Linked DNA regions of Homo sapiens: all the other regions are linked to region 2. Evidence: promoter capture Hi-C in 16 types of primary human blood cells and fetal thymus (Javierre and others, 2016). All regions are on one chromosome and are shown on one strand. Each heading gives the region's core, a stretch centred on a gene start or on the middle of the fragment in contact. The rest is flanking DNA. Distances are from core to core; before and after follow the strand shown. Region 1 overlaps CMTM2 (CKLF like MARVEL transmembrane domain containing 2). Region 2 holds the start of CMTM4 (CKLF like MARVEL transmembrane domain containing 4). Region 3 overlaps TERB1 (telomere repeat binding bouquet formation protein 1).

The links. The method cuts DNA at HindIII sites, captures the fragments that hold promoters and counts their contacts. A CHiCAGO score of 5 or more calls a contact.
Region 1: a fragment that was not itself captured here is called in contact with the fragment with the promoter of CMTM4 in region 2 in 5 of 17 cell types (naive CD8 T cells, activated CD4 T cells, non-activated CD4 T cells and 2 more); the score reaches 6.4 in naive CD8 T cells.
Region 3: a fragment that was not itself captured here is called in contact with the fragment with the promoter of CMTM4 in region 2 in 1 of 17 cell types (naive B cells); the score reaches 5.0 in naive B cells.

Annotation. Positions count from the first base shown.
Region 1 is chr16:66,580,079-66,582,778 of GRCh38, forward strand. It overlaps CMTM2 (CKLF like MARVEL transmembrane domain containing 2), which reads left to right. Exons shown (of 4, transcript NM_144673.3): 2 at 1-106. Among named protein-coding and RNA genes, the nearest start is that of CMTM2, 2.0 kb to the left of the region's middle. The HindIII fragment of the contact is 685 bases long and covers 1,013-1,697 here.
Region 2 is chr16:66,695,428-66,698,127 of GRCh38, forward strand. CMTM4 (CKLF like MARVEL transmembrane domain containing 4) reads right to left here and starts at 1,316. Exons shown (of 4, transcript NM_181521.3): 1 at 913-1,316. The coding sequence starts at 1,098. RefSeq lists an enhancer at 519-1,358 and silencers at 829-1,118, 1,209-1,548, 1,789-1,848, 1,879-1,958. The HindIII fragment of the contact is 10,204 bases long and covers 1-1,962 here.
Region 3 is chr16:66,764,859-66,767,558 of GRCh38, forward strand. It overlaps TERB1 (telomere repeat binding bouquet formation protein 1), which reads right to left. Exons shown (of 19, transcript NM_001136505.2): 16 at 2,557-2,652. Among named protein-coding and RNA genes, the nearest start is that of DYNC1LI2-DT, 14 kb to the left of the region's middle. The HindIII fragment of the contact is 2,733 bases long and covers 1-2,700 here.

The DNA.
Region 1 (2,700 bases), core at 105-2,604, 120 kb before region 2:
CTTGAGGCTTATCATCACCATGGAGATATCCTTCTTCAGCTTCTTCATCTTACTGTACAGCTTTGCCATTCATAGATACATACCCTTCATCCTGTGGCCCATTTCTGTAAGTAAGGGGTGATGGGGAGTGCCTGCATCCAGAATGCTGATCAGGTGTGTCTTGGCACCTGGAAAGTCACCAAACAGAGAGACACACCTCACCTCCCATATCTGTGCCTGGGTCAGGGACTCAGAACATCAGTGGGGCCCAGGCAGAGGCAGCTGGGTGCAAGAGGGGTAGCTAGGCAGAAAATGCTCCAAAAAGCCTATCTGTGTGTTGGAGTGAGAGTGGGGAACTCTTACTTACCTGGTGGTCAAAGAGGGCCTGAGCCTTTGTTCTCTTTAGGGGAAGGGGAGGTGTAGCAACCAGCTGTTCCTCCGAACTCCTGTGCCAGCTCACACTTGACAGGAGATCACCCCAGAAGGACCCCATTCCCAAAATTCAAAGAAGAAAATTACTCTCCCATAAGTCAATAAAATAAAACAAAATGGGAATTTTTTTTAAAAATCACTTCTAAAGCAGCGTTAGGTCTCCAGTGAATATCCCTATAAAGGATGTTTGGATCAGAAGGATGTTCAGCCCAAAGCAGTCATCTAGTGGAAAGAGACAGAACTGGGCAAGTTACTAAACCATTCCCAGCCTGTTTCCTCATCTGTAACATGAGACAGTCACATTCCTTGCAGAACTGACATTCAATCCTGAGGATTAAATGTAAATTGCTTGACACCGTGCCTGAGGACTCATGGAATTGAATCCCTGCCCATCACCTGTTTAACCACAGGGCACAACCACCTAACCCCTTGCCAGTCAATGAAGACCCCAATTCCCAAGTCCCTTTGTTCATTGCACATTCACAGCCTGCCTCCAGAGCCCTCTTGTTCACTGTTTCACTCACGTTACACATGAGGAAATTGGCCTAGAATGGCCAAGTAACTTGCCCCCAGGTCACTCAGCTGGTAAGTAGCAGAAAAAAGCTTCAAACTTAGCTTTATGAGTACATTTCATCCTGCCTTCTTGTTAAAAACTATTAGGGTCCAGGGATCCAGAGGTCTTGGTGAAGCAGATGAGGACCTCCGATACAGGGAGAAAGGACAGGAGGGCCAAATAAGGACTCTCAGAAAAGGGACAAGCAGAGGACAAGGTAAAAGGACAGGCAGAGGACAAGTTCCTAAACAAGGAGCCTGAGAAGACATTTTTAGTTCCAGCAAGATGAAAAACCAATGAACCCTGAACATCTTCCCACTGTGCTTACCTAAAAATACCAGGGGAAATGTAACCAGTATTGCTTTAACTGAATGAATGAGCTGGCAAAAAAGAAATGAAAACACACAGGCGCCAGAAATGGCAAACAGGGCAGTGATCACATAAGCTACAAAGTATGAGTGGGAATGGTCCAAGAGGTATTGTCTCAGGAACCTACAGCCTGGATTTTCATGCACTCTCAAGTCAGGAAATAAGGCCTTGATCCTAAGCAAAGTGGGAATTTAGAACTGAAAACCCTGTATAAAGCCAGCGCCCTGGAAAGACTACCTCCTTAGGGAAAAGATGGACAAAGACACATACCCTTCTTATTCCCAACACAGAGGAATAAGAAAACATGTTCATCTCTGCCTGAGCTTTGAGTGGGCGGAGAGGAAGTCTTCCTTGAGAAATAGAAAGCTTAAGCCTGCCCTTTGTACAGATTGGAGTTTGAATTTTTGTTATCTGCAGCCTAGAAACCTTCATGCAGCCCAGAAACCTTCATCCCTGGGAATTACCATAAAAACTGATCCCAGTCTGATGACATTCTGCTGATATCCTTGGACTCCTGATAGAAACAAATGCAAAATCACAATCAAGGCATGAAGAGATTCTCACAGTGGGGGTGGGGGGAAAACCTTGTCAAAAATGAACTAATAATTCAAAACTACTAAACACCTGATTTTAAAAAATCCCCATTACTAAGAATCAACAAACACAACAAATGGATTAGAATCCTGAGAATATGAGATAATAGAAGAGCTGTCTGAAAATAATAATATATTTTAAGGGATTATAGACATAAGAGTCCTGAGAAAAGAGTAAGACACTATGAGGACAAAATAGACAGATTTTTAAAAAGTACAGTGTCTAGAATAGAAAATATAGTTATTGAAATAAAAATGTCAATAGATGAATTCAAAAACAGATCAGACATAGCTGAAGGAGGGAACTGTTAACTGAAAGGTATGGGGAAATTACCCAGAACACAGCACACAGAGAGAGAGAAAATAAGAGATTGAGACAGAACAATGAGTGAGAACATCCATCAGTGGTTGTTGGGCTGGGTGTGGTGGCTCACACCTGTAATCCCAGCACGTTGGGAGGCTGAGGTGGATGGGTCCCTTTGGTCCAGGAGTTTGAGACCAGACTGGACAACATAGGGAGACCCTGTCTCTACAAAAAAATTTAAAAATTAGCCAAGCATGGTGGCACATGCCTGTTGTTCCAGCTACTCAGGAGGCTGAGGTGGGAGGATGGCTTGAACCCAGGAGGTCAAGGCTACAGAGAGCTCTGATGGTGCCACTGCACTCCAATCTGAGTGACAGAGTGAGACCCTGTCTAAAAAATAATAAAAGAGGTGTCAAGAAGCCAGGCACAGTGATGTGTGCCTGTAGTCCCAGCTTCTCAGGAGGCTGAGG
Region 2 (2,700 bases), core at 66-2,565:
GGCCTACCTGTGACAGAGAATGTTGGGGGGACACACGGGTTTTTCTGAATTAGAGCATGCCCACAACAGAGCTAAGCAATTGCCCGCAGAGGCATGTTACAAAACCACAAAGCAGGAACAGAGCTGAGAGGCCCCTGCCCAGAACACCCTGGAAGCTAAAACACAGGACCCTGAGAAATGAGCTCTACTACAGACAAGTCCAACAGAAAGTTCTCTGTTTCTGCTACCTCCAAAACTGGCTGCCCTCCCAGATTTAACTCTGGGTACCAATTGGGCAGTGCCAGCCACCGTGCTGGGCGGTGGATTCCGGGATGCCAAGTCTGTCTTCTTGGTTAGAAGGACACAAACCTCTGCAGTGTAGAGAATTGTGGGCATATCTGGGCTCCTCCACTGCATCAGGGCTACCTGCCTCCATCCAGCAAATACTTACTAAGCGCCTACCATATACGCCTGGCACCCAGCTAGACATCAAGTGGGAACCAAACCACAGTCCCTCGTCTCCGCAGGCAGAAACAGGCACCGTCCGGAGGTTGCGCGGGCCGGGAAAACCTGCCACAGGTTGCTAAGACCAGCTGTACCCAGGAGACAGCAGGATTCCCAGCAGCACCCAGCCCAGTAACGCCACAGACTCCCGGGAGCGAGGGCGGAGCGGACAGGTAGGCCCGAAGGCAGGTGCTCAGGTAGGAGGCGCACACCTGAGGCTGCCGGCCTGGGAAGGGCAGGCTCTGGCCGAAGGCGGGGTCCCCAGAGAAGGCTGCAGAGTGGTCCCGGGACCCCACGAGGGAGAGGGGGCGCGAGGAGCGGGCTCCGGCCTGGGCAAGCGGGTACGCGGCGGAGGCCCCGCAGCGGGGCGGGGAGGGAGGCGTGCGGCTAGGCCGCCCTCGGGCACCTGGGGCCCCGCCCGGCACCTACCACTTGGGCGACCTTGAGGCGGCCGAGCGCGCCGCGCAGGTAGTCGGGGTCGCAGCGCAGGCCGGCCAGCCCGCGGCGCTGGCTCACCGGCTCGGTGGTGGGCTGGTACGGGCTGCTGGCGCCCGAGATCATGGAGGTGCTCGAGGCCTCGCCCTCGAAGCCGTCCAGCTCCTCGCCGCTCCGCATGCTGCCGCCCGGCCCGGGCCGCCTCGCGCGGCTGGCTCCCGGCGCCAGGAGCGGGCGGACTCAGCGGGGCCGCCGCATCGCCGCCGCCGCCGCCGCCGCCGCCGCCCGACTGACTGCCCGCGGCCCGCCCGCCGCCGCCGCCTCTCGCCCGCCGCCCGGCTGCGGCTGCGGCTCGGTCCGCTCGGGCTCGGCTCCCGCCGCCTCGGCAGCGGAAAGGGAGGGAGGTGGGAGCCAGGAGAGGGAAGGAGGCGGGAGCGGGCGCGCCGGGCCGGGAGAGGCGGAGCCAGGCCGCAGCCGGCCGCTCGGAGGCGCTCCGCGGCTCGAGCGAGGTGGAGGCGGCGGCGCCGCGGGCCTCGGGGAGGGGCGGGGCGAGGCGGGGCGCCGGCTCCTCAGGCCCCGCCCTGGCCCCGCCCCCACCTGCGCCTAGAGCCGGGGCGGGAGCCGCTGGTGGGCGCTGGCGATCCCGGCACGCGGGGCGATGGGGTTCAGGCAGCGGGGTCTTGGGGCTGAGGAAAGGGTCGAGGTGGACCTGGAGGCCATGGAGTTGCTTTCCCAGACGCTGCCTCAGGTTCTCCTTTGAAGAAAGTGGGGTCCTCGACGCATAGGGTGGGGAGCTTCTCGGTAAAGACAGAGACGGGCTGCGCCACCCGGGTGCCGGGAACGGTGCGTGGCCAGGGTGGGCTTGACTCAGACTATTGGGCCGACGAGAGGTGGGTAAGTGCCTGTGTTCTCACGCTGGGCGCCTGGAACAAACCGGTTCCGAGGCCAGGGGCGGGCGGGGCAGGGTGAGGAGCCGCCCCACTGCAGGTTGTCCCCGCCGGCCTGACCCAGGCGACTGACATGTTCCTCTCCTCTCAGCTGAAAAGCTTTGCTAGCTCTGTCTACGCATAAAGTAAGGTTAAACACAGATTTTGCCCCGAAGGGCATTAATTAGGGACCAATTTACAATTCAAGTGTGAAGGCTAATTTTAAGCTAAGTAAAACACTGACTAAGAAGTGTCGCTTTGATATTGAACCCTTCCACAACCACAAATACCGAGAGCTTGCCATGTTCTAGGCACTGAGCAAGGCGCTTGAAGAACGTATCGTTGTTATTTCTATTTTACAGAAGAAGAGACTAAGGCTGCAGACTGGAAGTAGCTTGTCCAAGGTCACACAGTTCATTGGTGGGCAGAGCCCAGGTTCCTACTTTTTCTTTTTTTAAAAAAAAGTTATTTATTATTTTCATCATCATTATTTTTGTAGAGATAGGGCCTCACTGTGTTGCCCAGGCTGATCTCGAACTCCCGGGCTCAGGGGATCCTCCTGCCTCAGCCTCCCAAATTGCTGGGATTACAGGTGTGACTGACCATGCCCAGCCCTCAACTTTTTCAAAGATAGGAAGGACAGTGACTCTAATACTGTTGTCCTTCTGTATGGGGGCAAGAGAGGGAGCTTGTTTTCAGGACCCCCTCAAATACCAAAATCTGAAGATGCTCTCAAATCCTTTATATAAAATGGTGTAGTATTTACATATAACCTACACACATCTTCTCGTATACTTTAAATAATTGTTCTACTGTATTACTTTTTATCTATATTTTTGTGTGTGCGTGTGTGTGT
Region 3 (2,700 bases), core at 112-2,611, 69 kb after region 2:
AAAGTAACAAGAAGATATTGAAGTGGGTATGTGCTGAGAACTACTGGAAATGAAAGAATAAGGCTATAGCCCACGTTAGAAGCCAAAAGTCAAGATACATATTTGAAAACCATCAATAAAATGATAGATGATGCTACAAAAGTAAATGTAGTGAAAGAACTGCGTAGGTGCTATAGACTAGGTCTTGAGGAGAATACTTGTGGCAATCTGGCAGGAAGAGAGAGATAAAGGTGAAGACTGAGTTCTATTCATCTTCGATTCCAGTGCCAGCCAAGGACTAAGCACTCCATAATGTTTGTGGAATGAATGAATGGTAACTAGGGGAGAAAGGAACAAGGAAATAACCATCTCATACAAACTAAGCAATTACAGAACATCCACTTTGCCACCTAGAATACTTTTGACCAGAGATTCCCAAACTTTCTAGGTTCATGGCACCTCTAAGCCAAAAGAAATGCCTAATGATTCTGTCAGATCCAAGACAACTTAATAAGTATTTATGTTCTAACAACTTAGTAGCCATTTGAAAAAATAATACAATTAAACTGAAAGAAATATTTGTACTTTTTTATTCTTATTAAATACATTTACTTTCTTTCTTTCTTTTTTTTTTTTTGGAGACAGAATCTCGCTCTGTCACCAAGGCTGGAGTGCAATGGCATGATCTCAGCTCACTGCAACCTCTGCCTCCCAGGTTCAAGCAATTCTCCTGTCTCAGCCTCCCGAGTAGCTGGGATTACTGGCTCATGCTGCCATGCCCAGCTAATTTTTTGTATTTTAGTAGAGACGGGGTTTCACCGTGTTGACCAGGCTGGTCTTGAACTCCTGAGCTCAGGTAATCCACCCGCCTCGGCCTCCCAAAGTGCTAGGATTACAGACATGAGCCACCACACCCGGCCTAATACATTTACTTTCTAATGGTATATGTGCATCTGCTGGGAGGAGTGGATGAATAATTGAAAGGATAGCAAATCAAACAAACTATTGGGTATTTTTTTTTTTTTTTTTTTTTTTTTTTTTTTTTGAGACGGAGTCTCGCTCTGTCGCCCAGGCCGGACTGCGGACTGCAGTGGCGCAATCTCGGCTCACTGCAAGCTCCGCTTCCCGGGTTCACGCCATTCTCCTGCCTCAGCCTCCCGAGTAGCTGGGACTACAGGCGCCCGCCACCGCGCCCGGCTAATTTTTTGTATTTTTAGTAGAGACGGGGTTTCACCTTGTTAGCCAGGATGGTCTCGATCTCCTGACCTCATGATCCACCCGCCTCGGCCTCCCAAAGTGCTGGGATTACAGGCGTGAGCCACCGCGCCCGGCCGGGTATTTTTTTAAGATGAGGAAAAATGAGCATAGTTCAAGGTGGAACAAAAGGAGTTAATGAATAGAATGGAAGTGAAGAGAAAGATTTTGCAATTAGTATTAAAATGTGGAGAAAAAAAAGATATGAGATTCAGCTTATGGCTGGACATCAGTTTTAGAAGAATAGAGATAACCTCTTCATCCAAGAGGGAAGAACAATGATGTTCTGAGCCGAATATAGAGAACCTCAATTTTGTCCATAGAGCAGAGTACAACAGCAAGATGAAAAAAGAGGAAATACCGGGGTGTGAAGGAGGAGGAGAAGGGATGGAATAAGTATTGTGGAACATTTACAAGAGCCCTGCAGAAAAAACAAATAATGAACATGAAACAGTAGAAACATTTACATATTATAAATATAAAAATAGGTATTTTTAAAACTTAATGCCTATGTTTACAGGATAATCCAGAATGCATACCTAGTAATAACGGCTCTCTGAAAACATTAAAAAATGTTTATTTTACTCAGTAAGGTTAAATTCATAGATGGTATTAAGACAAAAAGATAATAAAGTAATAAAAAGGTACTAACTGTGTTTATTCATACATACAAATATTGGAAGCTCAGCCTGATGCTGATAAAAGGTGTTTTTTTTGTTTTGCTTTGTTTTTAATTATAGAGACAAGGTCTCGCTATGTTGACCATGCTGGTTTTGAACTCCTGGCCTCAAGAAATCCTCCAGCCTTGGCCTTCCAAAGTGTTGAGATTACAGCTGCCTCACCTGGCCCAGATAGAAGATATTAATTTGAATGCTTTGATATTCCACAGTATTATTTCTCCAAAGGGAACAAAGTAAATCATACATGTAGAACTATTATAAATTCTAGTTAATTACAATAAGCGTGGTGGCTCATGTCTGTAACACCAGCACTTTGAGAGGCTGAGGCAGGCAGATCATTTGAGGTCAGGAGTTCAAGATCAGTTTGGCCAACATGGTAAAACCTGCTCTACGAAAAAATACAAAAAAAAAAAAAAAATTAGCCAGGTGTGGTAGTGGGCACCTGTAATCCCAGCTACTTGGGAGGCTGAGGCACAAGAATTACTTGAACCTGGGAGGTGGAGAGTGCAGTGAGCCAAGATCGCGCCACTGCACTCCAGCCTGGGTGACAGAGTAAGACTCTGTATCAAAAAAAAAAAAAAATTCTAGTTAATATCATAAAAGGCTTTGACTGTGAAACAACTGCAATTAAAAAAATACTTACCTGAGCACCTATACGTCAACATTTCGGAACAACTGGGAGTTGCTAGAAAACTGACTACTTCTTTATTTATTATATCTGAACATAATGTAAATGGATCTGAAAAAAATTGCAAAATGAAGGATTTTTGGATTAATGAAAAGAATC